Linked DNA regions of Homo sapiens: region 1 is linked to region 2. Evidence: promoter capture Hi-C in human tissues and cell types (Jung and others, 2019). All regions are on one chromosome and are shown on one strand. The core of a region is centred on a gene start or on the middle of the fragment in contact, and the rest is flanking DNA. Distances in the headings are between cores, read along the strand shown. Region 1 overlaps ZNF66 (zinc finger protein 66). Region 2 holds the start of ZNF737 (zinc finger protein 737).

Evidence for each region. The method cuts DNA at HindIII sites, captures the fragments that hold promoters and counts their contacts. A contact is called where the count stands out against the background at its distance.
Region 1: a fragment that was not itself captured here is called in contact with the fragment with the promoter of ZNF737 in region 2 in 1 of the 25 tissues and cell types used here (thymus).

The regions. Positions count from the first base shown.
Region 1 is chr19:20,790,928-20,797,080 of GRCh38, reverse strand. It overlaps ZNF66 (zinc finger protein 66), which reads right to left. Exons shown (of 4, transcript NM_001355197.2): 2 at 4,443-4,569; 3 at 3,203-3,298. Among named protein-coding and RNA genes, the nearest start is that of ZNF66, 18 kb to the right of the region's middle. The HindIII fragment of the contact is 8,007 bases long and covers 1-6,153 here.
Region 2 is chr19:20,561,794-20,567,696 of GRCh38, reverse strand. ZNF737 (zinc finger protein 737) reads left to right here and starts at 1,916. Exons shown (of 4, transcript NM_001159293.2): 1 at 1,916-2,059. The coding sequence starts at 2,057. The region is part of intron 2 of LOC105372316 (a long non-coding RNA gene); the gene reads right to left. RefSeq lists enhancers at 2,064-2,113, 2,324-2,483. The HindIII fragment of the contact is 4,540 bases long and covers 73-4,612 here.

The DNA of each region.
Region 1 (6,153 bases), core at 1,669-4,168, 230 kb before region 2:
TCATAAGTTCAAGACCAGCCTGGCGAACTTGGTGAAGCCCTGTCTCTACTAAAAATACAAAAATTTGCCAGGGGTGGTGACACATGCCTGTAACCCCAGCTACTTGAGAGACTGAGGCATGAGAATTGCTTGAACCTGGAAGGTGGAAGTTGCAGTGAGCCACGATCACACCACTGCACCGCAGGCTGGGTGACAGAGTGTGACTCCATCTCAAAAAAAATAAAAATGTTTCTAGGTAACTGAAATATTTAACTGTTAGTGTGTACTCACTAAATGCAGGTATTTTGAATCATTGGCATGCCCTGTGTGGCAGTAAAATTTCAGAGAATATGCAGTATAATTATAAATAGAAGATTCTAATGAGAAACTTAAAAATTAGCATTTTAAGGAAACTAGTTACTTTTAATGTTTTAAATATATGGTATTTTTACACAAAATAAAACAGCTATAATCAAACTTTAGAAGCAAAGAGTAGCCTTACATTGTTAAATTTAAAATTATACAATTTGCAGAATAGGGTTAGACCCTCTGATATGTAAAACAAATATTGAGAAATAAACTATGTTATTATTTAGATATAGGCTAAAAAAAAGATGAAAATCCTTTAATTCCTTTTTGCCTGCAGCAAACTTAAATTCATAAGTAACTATTTTAGTAATATGGGTCCCTATGAGTTATCTAATTTACTTCAGGCATACCATGCAAATTCTAGCACATTGTCCTAAATATCTGAATCTAAATTTACAGACAAATCTGAAAGAGAAAATAGAAAGTAAAAATGTATAGGGAGAGTGACATCAGTAAGATGAAAAGATTAAAAGTCCCTATTTTCATACTCCCTTACAGCAAAAAAAAAAGTCAGCCATCTCTGACAAAAATGCCTTTATGAGAGAAATAGGCATTATGGCTCACACCTGTAATGACAGATACATGGTACATTAACGTTGGAGAACTGCTTCAGGCCAGGATTTTGAGACCAGCCTGGGTTATGTAGCAAGACCCCATCTCCAAAATACACGCCACTAAGAGAGATTTGAGATCCAGGGAGGGAGTTGTGAAATGCTGCTAAAGCTTAAGATTGAGAAGTGTTCTATTCAGAAGAGAACCTGCCCTTAGTCAGGTGGGAAACTGCAGGACCCCTACTCATGGCTACAGACCAGATAGGGTTCACCCAACTTGGTCCCACTGAGAATTCTGAACTTACTCTGTAACCAATCCAAACTCCTCCCAGTCAGAGTCTGGCAGAGGTCCTGACATTCAAGAGACCTGGAGGAAGGCACCCATTTACAACAATGTAGGCAGGCCTGCAGACTTTGGACTTTACTGGGATCCCTGAAGCGGTTCTATGACTCAGTTTCAGTTACCTGAGCCAAGTTTATGGTCAGTTCTGCCTACATAGAAACCCACACAATTGGGCAGGGTACAGTGCCTCACACCTGTAATTCCAGCAATTTGGGAGGCTGAGGCGGGCGGATCGCCTGAGGTCAGGAGTTCAAGACCAGCCTGACCAACATGGAGAAACACCTTCTCTACTAAAAATACAAAATTACCCAGGCATGGTGGCGCATGCCTGTATTTGCAGCTACTTGGGAGGCTGAGGCAGGAGAATCACTGGAACCCAAGAGGCGGAGGTTGTGGTGAGATGAGATCGCACCATTGCACTCCATCTTGGGCAACAGGAGCAAAACTCCATCTCAAAAAAAAAAAAGAAAAAGAAAAAAAGAAACCCACACAGTTCCCTAAGGAAATGCTTCTAAAATCAGTTTATGAAAACTTGAAGAGGTGTTTACTCCATCAAATTCAGACACCAATACAAAACTATATTGTGTCCATTGTCAATGCTTCTATTTGAATGTAGTGATGGAAGTATGTGGCAGAAGAATTATTCACAGAAATAAAAAAATCCAGCCAGGCATGGTGGCTCATGGCTGTAATCCCAACATTTTGGGAGGCAGAGGCGGGCAGATCATCTGAGGTCAGGAGTTTGAGACCAGCCTTGCCAACATGGTGAAACACCGTCTCTACCAAAAAAATACAAAAAAGTAGCTGGGTGTTGTGGTGAACACCTGTAATCCCAGCTACTCAGGAGGCTGAGGCAGGAGAGCCACTTGAGCCCAGGAGGCAAAGGTTGCAGTGAGTCAAAATCACACCATTGCACTTTAGCCTGGGCAAAAAGAGTGAAAGCCCCTCTCAAAAAAAAAAAAAAAAAAGTTGCTGGTTGTAAATCACACAATTTTATATTTAAAAAACCATAAACAGTACATTAAAACCTGTCTAAACTAATAAATACACTCAGTAAATTAGCAAAATATAAAATTAAACACACAAGTATATGTATGGTTTCTTACACTTAAAACAAACTATCTGATGAGGAAGAAAAAATCTTATTTAATATAGCATTAAATAAATTCCTGAGAAAAAAATTAACCAAGGAGGTAAAAAAAAGTTTACAATAACAAAATAAAAAAATTAGAAGATAAAAATTAATTTTAAAATATTTTATGTCAATGAATTAAAAGAATAAATATTATTAAAGAATCATATTATCCAAAGTGATTTACAGACTCAATAATCTTCCTATTAAAATTGCAGTGTTTTTTTTTACAATAATGGAAAATACAATTCTAAAATTTACATGAAACTAAAATAAACTTTGAATAGCCAAAGCAATCTTGAGGAAAAAGAAGAAAACAGAATATCGTACTTACAATTTCAAACTATATTTCAAGACTATATAGTAATAAAAATAGAATGGACTGTGCACAAAAATGAACAAAAAAAAATGCAACAGAAACTACTACTCTCACAAATTTCAGACCGGATACAAAAAGAAAACTAAAAAATAGTTTCAGTTTCTCAAAATTAGGAAGATATTTGTGTGTCCCCAAAACAATGAAAAAGCAGCTGGATTGTGCTGTCTCTTATATGTCATGAAGAGGACTTTGGCTCTCACTGTGAATGTGAAGGAAGCTCACTGAGAGAAAAGTAGAATTTTTAGAGAATTTAGAAGCATAAGACAATATGCCCCTTTGTGACAGCAAAATTTAAAACAACAAAAACAAAAACAAAAAACAAAAAAAACAGCTGCCCAGAAGTTCCTTTGGAACACAGCTTCCAGAATCACACCTTAAGGACTGGCTTTCTTTTTGACCTTGGACTTCTTACTGTGTTGTCTGTTGTATTCATTTTCACTCACACCTACCTGAGGGGTTGGCTACCATCTCATGTCTCTGCATAGTCGAAGGTTTTTTTCCTTGCTCCAGATGGGTGATGAGGTCTGGCTTTGAGACAACAATACCTGTTTTATCAAAAATAAATAACATGAATCTTGCTCACATTCTCCAATTACAAGCTAGTAATGTGCTCAGGAAAGATGATGTGATAAAATATTCTAGTAAATTAATAACAAAATACAAATTTGTAACAGAGATTTCTAAATATTTAGAAAATACTTCCAATTTGCCTGGTGCAGTGGCTCATGCCTGTAATCTCAGCACCTTGGGAGGCCGAGGCAGGCAGATCCTAAGGTCAGGAGTTTGAGACCAGCCTGGCCAGCATGGTGAAACCCCATCTCTACTGAAAATACAAAAATTAGCGGAGCATAGTGATGTGTGCCTGTAGTCCCACATACTCGGGAGGCTGAGGCAGGAGAAACTTGGGAGGTGGATGTTGCAGTAAGCCCAGATTGCACCACTGCACTCCAGCCTGGGGAACAGAGTGAGACTCTGTCTCAAAAAAAAAAAAAAAAGAAAAGAAAAGAAAAGAAAAGAAAAGAAAAGAAAATACTTTCAATTTGTAGGTTTCCTAATTTTACTACCTGGTACTACTGAATCAAAACTTGGTGGTGGCAAGTAGATTTTCAGGTGGAAGCTACAATATTTTAAGTCAGTAAATTTCTGGAATTACCACTAATTTAGAGTGAAGAATATAACTCACCTCAGAAATGTGGAAAGTTTGTATTAAGATGAAATATCTTGAAGAAATTTTTTTCTTTCTTTTTTTTTTTTCTTCCTTGAGACAGAATCTTGCTCTGTTGCCCAGGCTGCAGTGCAATGTCATGATCTCAACTCACTGCAACCTTCACCTCCTGAGTTCAAGTGATTCTCCTGCCTCACCCTCCTGAGTCCTGGGATTATAGGTGCATGCCACAGCCCGCAGCTAATTTTTTGTACTTTTATTAGAGTTGGGGTTTCAGCATTTTGGCCAGCTGGTCTCAAACTCCTGGCCTCAGGTAATCCCCCTGCCTCAGCCTCCCAAAGTGCTGGGATTACAGGCATGAGGCACCAAAGTAATTCTTTTCTAAATGAACAAATTCTGAAGATTTTCTTGAAAAACTGGATCTGAAACTCTTTTATAAAAAGAATAAATTACTAACATTCTACAAAAAAGAGAAATAAAACAATTTGTGTATATTATGAGTTATGTATTAAAGTTTTTCTCACCAAGAAAGACCAGGTTTCTGTAGTTCTCTAACATCACATCCCTATATAAATTCCGCTGTGCCATGTCCAGGCAATGCCACTCCTCCAGAGAGAATTCTATGGCCACATCTCTAAATTGCAATGGCCCCTGAAAAATATACACACACACATTTTCACCAAGTGGTTATGGGCGGAATTTTTAATTTGACTTAAGGTGAAATGAGAGAGTAAAGATAACTGGTTCTGACTTATAGGACTGACTAAAGTTATCCTATAAAATAATTTTCAACACAGAAATATTCTCTAAAGTATTCTCTAACTCTGAGAAAATAAAGGAACATAAGATCCACAACATCAGTTCATATATTTTTCTAGAAAATAAACTATAAAATTAAGGGCATGAACACAAACATGTACATTTTTGAGTGCTATATTTACATCATATGGAATGAGTTGTGAATATTTTTCAGATGAAAAAGGCATGTTTTAATATGTACAATAAGCTGAAGACCTTGTTATGCAGGGTTTTTTTCCAGAAGATCTGGAATAAAGTCTGATTTTTTGAATTTCTAGCAAGCTAACCAATAATGTCAATGTTTTTGGCCCAAGAAGAATATTTTGTCAAACATCCAGTAAGTGGAAGAGCCTGTGTTTTTTCCAGTTTTTCTGGCCTGTAAACAAAGATAAGAGCCTTAATTTTCCAAAGAAAAATATGTAGAAAAAAAGAAAAAAGAACAGCTGCCAGATTAAATGATTGTTTGTTCACATCAGCTGCATAATGAAACTTAATAATGAAGAGAAAAATAATTAGCTATATAGTAAAAAAAAGTCTGTCAGAGACCTATTTAAGCAAGTGAATCATTAACCATTAACTGCACTAGGACAAATTTTTATGATGTGTTAATGCATACAGAAGAATACAGCATCACTATTGAAATATTCCTTTTTAAAAAAAGCAAATAAAATCTGAATGTAATCAAAAAGAATCATCAGTTTTATGCAAACCTCAAAATACAGATACCTCCTATGTTCTGTAATTTTTAGTAGTAATATTAAGCAGGCTTCATTAACACCCTAGAAAGCAGGTATCTCCTAATAATTTTTTTCAGAATTTCTGGGTAATAAATGCCATCACATTTAAATGAGCAATTTTCTTTTTTTTTTTTTTTTTTTTGAGATTAAGTCTCACTCTTGTCCCCCAGGCTGGAGTGCAATGGCACGATCTCAGCTCACTGCAACCTCCGCCTCCTGGGTTCAAGTGGTTCTCCTCCCTCAGCCTCCCAAGTAGCTGGGATTACAGGTGCCTGCCATCACGCCAGGCTAATTGTTATATTTTTAGTAGGGACGGGGTTCCACCATGTTGGCCAGGTTGGTCTCGAATTCCTGACTTCAGGCGATCTGCCTGCCTTGACCTCCCAAAGTGCTGGGATTACAGGCATGAGCCACCACGCCCGACCTAAATAAGCAATTCCTTAATCCTGTTCAGCATACAGCTAATGGAACACATGAATGGAGCCTCAACATTATATTTTCTCCATCTTTACTAAGGACCACAGTTTTCCCCAATAGAAATCTTGAGTATCCACATCTTTCCATGTTCAACAGCCACAAACGGAACATTTTTAATATTGCAGATCATAAATTCCTGTTGATAAATCTGCATGGCGTATAAGAAGTTATGATGTAGAGAATGAAGAGAAGGCTCTGGGATACAGGGAAGAAATACTTTTCA
Region 2 (5,903 bases), core at 667-3,166:
GGCATTGGGCCAGTCTGGAAGTCAGATTAGCATTTTCCTTTTCCGCTTACATTTATCTTGTAGCAACCAGCCCCTATCACGATACATTAACTTATAAGCAGTAAGCAAACACCATCCACTCCGGGAGATCCCTCAGCATCTCCTTTGCTGACTGGAATCCCCCGCAGCACTTCCCGCACAGTCAAAGGTTTAAACTGCACTAATTTAGATTCCCAATTCCCACAAAAACCAGTTCCCCTTGACCATTTAATCACCAAGAGGGAGAACTGGGGGAGTTCCCATCCCAGGATATGGGAAGTCCCTGAGCCCTCCAGCCCTGTCCTTCTAGTCAAAAAGGGGTACACTTTTGTTTTCAAATCCTATTTGTGATGCCAAAAATGTTCTGTGAGGCAAATGTGAGAGGGGAGAAACAAAGACACACACACAATACCATTAAGGGTAAACAACTTTTATCCCACGTAAATGGCAATGCAGACATAATAAAGTAATAATATAATAAGCAAATGATATAATAAGCAAATAAATATAATAAGCAGATTGATGTAATAAGCCAATCTTAATAAGACGAGGAAATGGGAAAAGATATATATATATATATATATATATATATATATATATTTTCCCTCACCAGACTATGGGGGATTCACCACCAGAGAGGGAGGCAACAGCCACAGCTCTAGAGTCAGCCACCCGTCCATCGTACACAGACAAGGAGAGGTCTTATGAAGCTTCAGGGCGGTCTGGGACCTTAGCTCTTTTGTAACGAGTTGTTTGGCATAAGGCCCAGTGATGAGAGCCCTTCACGACTTGCCTCAAGGAACACAAAAAGGTCAACCTTTTTTTGTGATTGTCTATTGTTTTTCAACAACTAATATATAGGAATAGATTGAAATAGAGATTTCTTCAATACAGCGCTGGATGAACACCTCAGGGGCTCACACAACCTGTTCTGGGACTTGGTGACAATTGTTTGTGTCCACATTCAATTGAGTTCAGATTTAATATGTGACTTTTCCTCCACAAATTCCCCTGTCTTGATGAATCGGCTCTGTCTAGGCAAAGGGTAAAATAAACCCCTTGGGCTGTTACACAACCTCCGCCTCCTGGCTTCAAGTGATTCTCCTGCCTCAGCCTCCGGTGTAGCTGGGACTACAGATGTGCACCCCCACACCCAGGTAACTTTTTATATTATTAGTTATTATTATTATTTATTAGTTATTATTAGAGATGGGGTTTCACCATGTTGGCTAGGCTTGTCTTGAACTCCTGACCTCAAGTGATCTGCTCACCTTGGCCTCCCAAAGTGTTGGAATTACCAGCGTGAACTATCCGTGCCTGCCTCTAAATGATTTCTATCTCCTATAGCTGTTGGAAATTAAAGATTGTTTCAAATTGAAAAAATAAAAAGAATGTGGACAAAAATAAAATATAAATAGTTTTTTAAAATTACGAGATATTACAAAATATATATGTAAATCTGGAGTGCTCAAAAATGACAAATTTGATTTATTTATAAGGTTTTATTAAAATTAGCTTTAATAGATTTTACCATTACCAAAGTAAAAGTTGATTTTCTGTTGAACAAAAATTTTATGTATTATTAATGACAGCAAAATACTTCTGTTCACCTTTTTAATACATTCAACAAGAAAGAGAGTAAACAAGAGATAAAATATTCCCATGCTCTGGGGTGGGCCTGGCTCAGCTCAGGGAGGAAGCACTGTTTGAAAAGCCAGCTGCTTAGGCTGGCACTCTTTGTTCACTTAACCCAGCATCTGATCATATCTTCTGTCACTCAGGGCCTGAGGGGGCGGGGATTTAAGCATTATCCAATCAGGGACGCTGGGCTGGAAGCCGTCCAATCAGGCACGCAGCCAGAGTGAAGCGGAAGGCTTCCGGGTTTTGCGGGGCCTTTGTCTCTGCAGCCGGAGCTCCAGGTCTTGTCTTCACTGCTGTGTGTCCTCTGCTCCTAGAGGCCCAGCCTCTGTGGCCCTGTGTCCTGCAGGTATTGGGAGATCCACAGCTAAGACGCCCGGGAGCCCCTGGAAGCCTAGAAATGGTGAGAGTGCCGGTCCGACATCCCGAGAGAGGGGGATAGGCTGGTTGGAACCGGTGGGAAGTGGCTGTGGCGGGACTCAGGCCTCTGCGCAGTCAGCTCCACAATCTGCACCCTGAGTTCTCCTTGCCCAGCTCGGCCTCAGTCCCGTTCAGCCATAATTTGGCGGCTACGCTGACAGCCGGGCCCCCTGGCGTCCTGTGTCTTCCCTGCGTAGTGACTGCTCTGGCCTGGAGCGCTCCGTGGGCAGCTCTGCAACCGCAGCCTCCCGTCTCTCCCAGAATGTGCAGGGACCACCAGAGGGTCGTCAGGGGAGAATCCTGACTCGGGGTGCAGGTTCATGAATGGGAAGAGCTTTGGTCCGTGGAGTTCACAGTTTCTGTTTTCTGCTATTCAAAATTTATGGGGCCGGGCGCAGTCGTTCACGCCTGTAATCCCAGCACTTTGGGAGGCCGAGGCAGGCGGATAACTTGAGGTCAGGACTTCAAGATAAGCCTGGCCCAAATGGGGAAACCCCATGTCTACTAAAAATGCAAAAATTAGCTGGGTGTGATGACAGATGTCTGTAATCACAGCTTCTCGGGAGGCAGAAGTGAGAGAATCGCTTGAACTCCGGAGGTGGATGTTGCAGTGAGCTGAGATCTTGCCACTGCACTCCAGCCTGCGCGACAGTGAGACTCCGTCTCAAAAAAAAAAAAAAAATTCCTGGTTATGTAATTACAGTTTAATTGGCAGTTTATAGTTGCTTAAGCCTGAATTTTGTTTCCCCTAATGTAGTAATTTCCCAAAAAATGCACATGAGCTTAGATTTTTTTTTTTTTGAGGTAGAAATCCAGGGACTAGAGCTTCTTCAGTCTAATTGCCTGCCACTTAATTATTTTCACACGCCACAGCGGACTGATTTTCCCTGGCATTTTCCACATGTGTCTCAAGCAAGGCCTCAAGTGTACCCCATGTTCCTCAATTTATTATTTTTATTTTTTTTTTTTTGAGACGGAGTCTCGCTCTGTCGCCAGAGCTGGAGTGCAGTGTCAGATCTCGGCTCACTGCAACCTCCGCCTCTCAGGTTCAAGCATTCTTCTGCTTCAGCCTCTGGAGTAGTTGGGGCTATGGGCACGCGACACCACGCCCAGCTAATTTTTGTATTTTTAGTAGAGATGGAGTTTCAGTATGTTAGCCAGGAATGCTAGTTACCAAGGAAAAAAATAGGGAAAATCTCTCTTCCATTTTGGCTGTAGACAATGAATATATTTCCACAGGAAAATGTGGTAGATAATTGATGAGTTACATAGATTCGTCAACACATTAGTTCCTCTTTTTGCAGGGGAAATTTGTGACAGTGAATATCTCAGTTCTATATCCTGTTGAGTTCTGAGTTAAATGCTAAATTATATGTGATGAAACATGGTACCTTCTAGAAGTGTTCCCATATGACTAATTTTTTACTACATTATTTTATTTATTTACTTTTTTTTTGAAACAGAGTCTCGCTCTGTCAACAGGTTGGAGTGCAGTGGCGTGATCTCGGCTTACTGCAGCCTCCACCTCCTGGGTTCAAGCAATTCTCCTGCCTCAGCCTCCTGAGTAGCTGGGATTACAGGCACGTGCCACCACACCCAGCTAATTCTTTTGTATTTTAAGTAGAGAGGGGGTTTCAACATGTTGGCCAAAATGGTCGTGATCTTCTGACATCGTGATCTACCTGCCTCGGCCCTCCAAAGTGCTGGGATTACAAGCATGATTTGCCGCACCAGGCCTACTTATTTTTAAGATAAATAATAAAATAATACATATATTTTCTGAAAGAAGTAGATATATTTACTTTTCTTATGGAGGTATCACATGCAAGCACCTTAGCCAGGTGCAGTGGCTCACGCCTGTCATCTCAGCACTTTGGGAGGCCGAGGTGAGTGGATCACTTGAGGTCAGGAGTTTGAGACCAGCCTGCCCAACATGATGAAACCCCATCTCTACTAAAAATACAAAAATTAGCCGGGTGTGGTGGCATACGCCTGTATTCCCAACAACATGGGAGGCTGAGGCACAAGAAGGTCTTGAACCGGGGAGGCAGAGGTTGCAGTGAGCCAAGATCATGCCATTGAACTCCAGCCTGGGCCACAGGGTGACTCCGTCTCAAAAAAAAAAAAAAAAAAAGTAAGCACTTCCTTCTTATGTAAACACTGTGTTTGAGTAATTTCCCTGGATTTTTCTAACACTTAGTTTCAAAAACCAAGTGAATAACTCTGACATGGAAATCAAAGCTTGAACCTAGTGACTCCAAGCTAAGGCTGATATTAAGCCTGCAACAGGATGTTACTAAAGACTCAGTTTTTTTCTGGGGAGCCTCCCCTGCACATGTCCCAGCCTGCTCACCCCAGCCATAGAAGGAGGCTTTATCCTGAGAGAAGCTACAGAGCCCTGGAAAGCTGGGGCCCCACAGGCAGATGCAGCTGAGGTTAAGATGAAAGGAAACTTAGAGGGTCTTATTGATGATGAAGTTGTTATGTTTTGTGGCACTTTCTACACTTTGTAAAATAAAAAATATTAATTTATGTTAAAAAAATGAATTCCAAAAAAAATTGCAACAGCAGAAAATACCAACTAATTTAAGATCTTTATGGCTTGCAAAGATGTAAGCAGAAAAGGGCTTTCTTTTTTAGGGAGGAGCAAACAAGATTAGAAAGGAGGTGGGAGGTGAATGGCAAACGGAGAGTGAAAAAGTCATATTTTAGATCAGAGGATGTCTTACCCTGAAATCAGCATGTTCTTAGGAGGGACATAAAATGGGGTTGTATGCTGACTCAGACTGAGGGTAGCTCAAAGTTCAGGAGCCTGAGGGAGGGAGATAAGCTTAAGAAGAGTTCGATTAAGGGATATTTTATTTTAGGCTAAGTGTGGTGGCTCATGCCTGTAAACCCAGCACTTTGGGAGGCTGAGACAGGCGGATCACCTGAGGTCAGGTGTTCAAGACCAGCCTGGCCAACATGGTGAAATCCTGTCTCTACTAAAATACAAAAATTATTGGGAGGCTGAGGTGGGCAGATCACCTGAGGTCGGGAGTTCGAGACCAGCCTGACCAACATGGAGAAACCCCATCTCTACTACAGAAAAAAAAAAAGAAAAAGAAAAATCAGGTATTGTGGTGCATGCCTGTAATCCCAGCTACTCATGAGGCTGAGGCAGGAGAATGGCTTGATCCTGGGAAATGGCTTGAAAGTTTGTGGTGAGCCGAGATCACACCAGTGCACTCTAGCCTGGGCAACAAGAGTGAAATTCCATTTCAAAAAAAAAAAAAAAAAATTAGCCAGGTGTGTTGGTGGGTGCCTATAATCCCAGCTACTTGGGAGGGTGAGGCAGGAGAATTGCTTGAACCTGGAAGGCAGAGGTTGCAGTGAGCTGAGATTGCTCCACTGCACTCCAGCCTGGGTGACAAAGTGAAGAAATATTTTGAGCGCTGAAGACAAATTCAGCTGATTTTTTTAATGAGAAAAAGGAGAAAATGTGCAGTGTGTGTGTGTGCCTGTGTGATAGATAAGAAAAGAGAGCACTAAGTCATAATGGGAACAGTGTTTCTTTCCATAAACTGTTCCTGGAGCACACAAAAGATGGAGAATTTTATTAATCACAAATATTTTCCAGGATTATCTGTGTGTTTCATCTTTCCCCATCTCTTTTATTCGTTCTGTGCATTTCTTCCATTTGGCTTTTCCTGGGCTGCATCTTATATATTAAACTGTTAAACATCACTGCAGTGGTTTGCTGAGTTCTGTGAGTAGCTCTACCAAATTATTGAACTTCAGGGAGGTTATGGGACTCCCCAGTTTTTAAACAGTAGCTCAGAAGCATA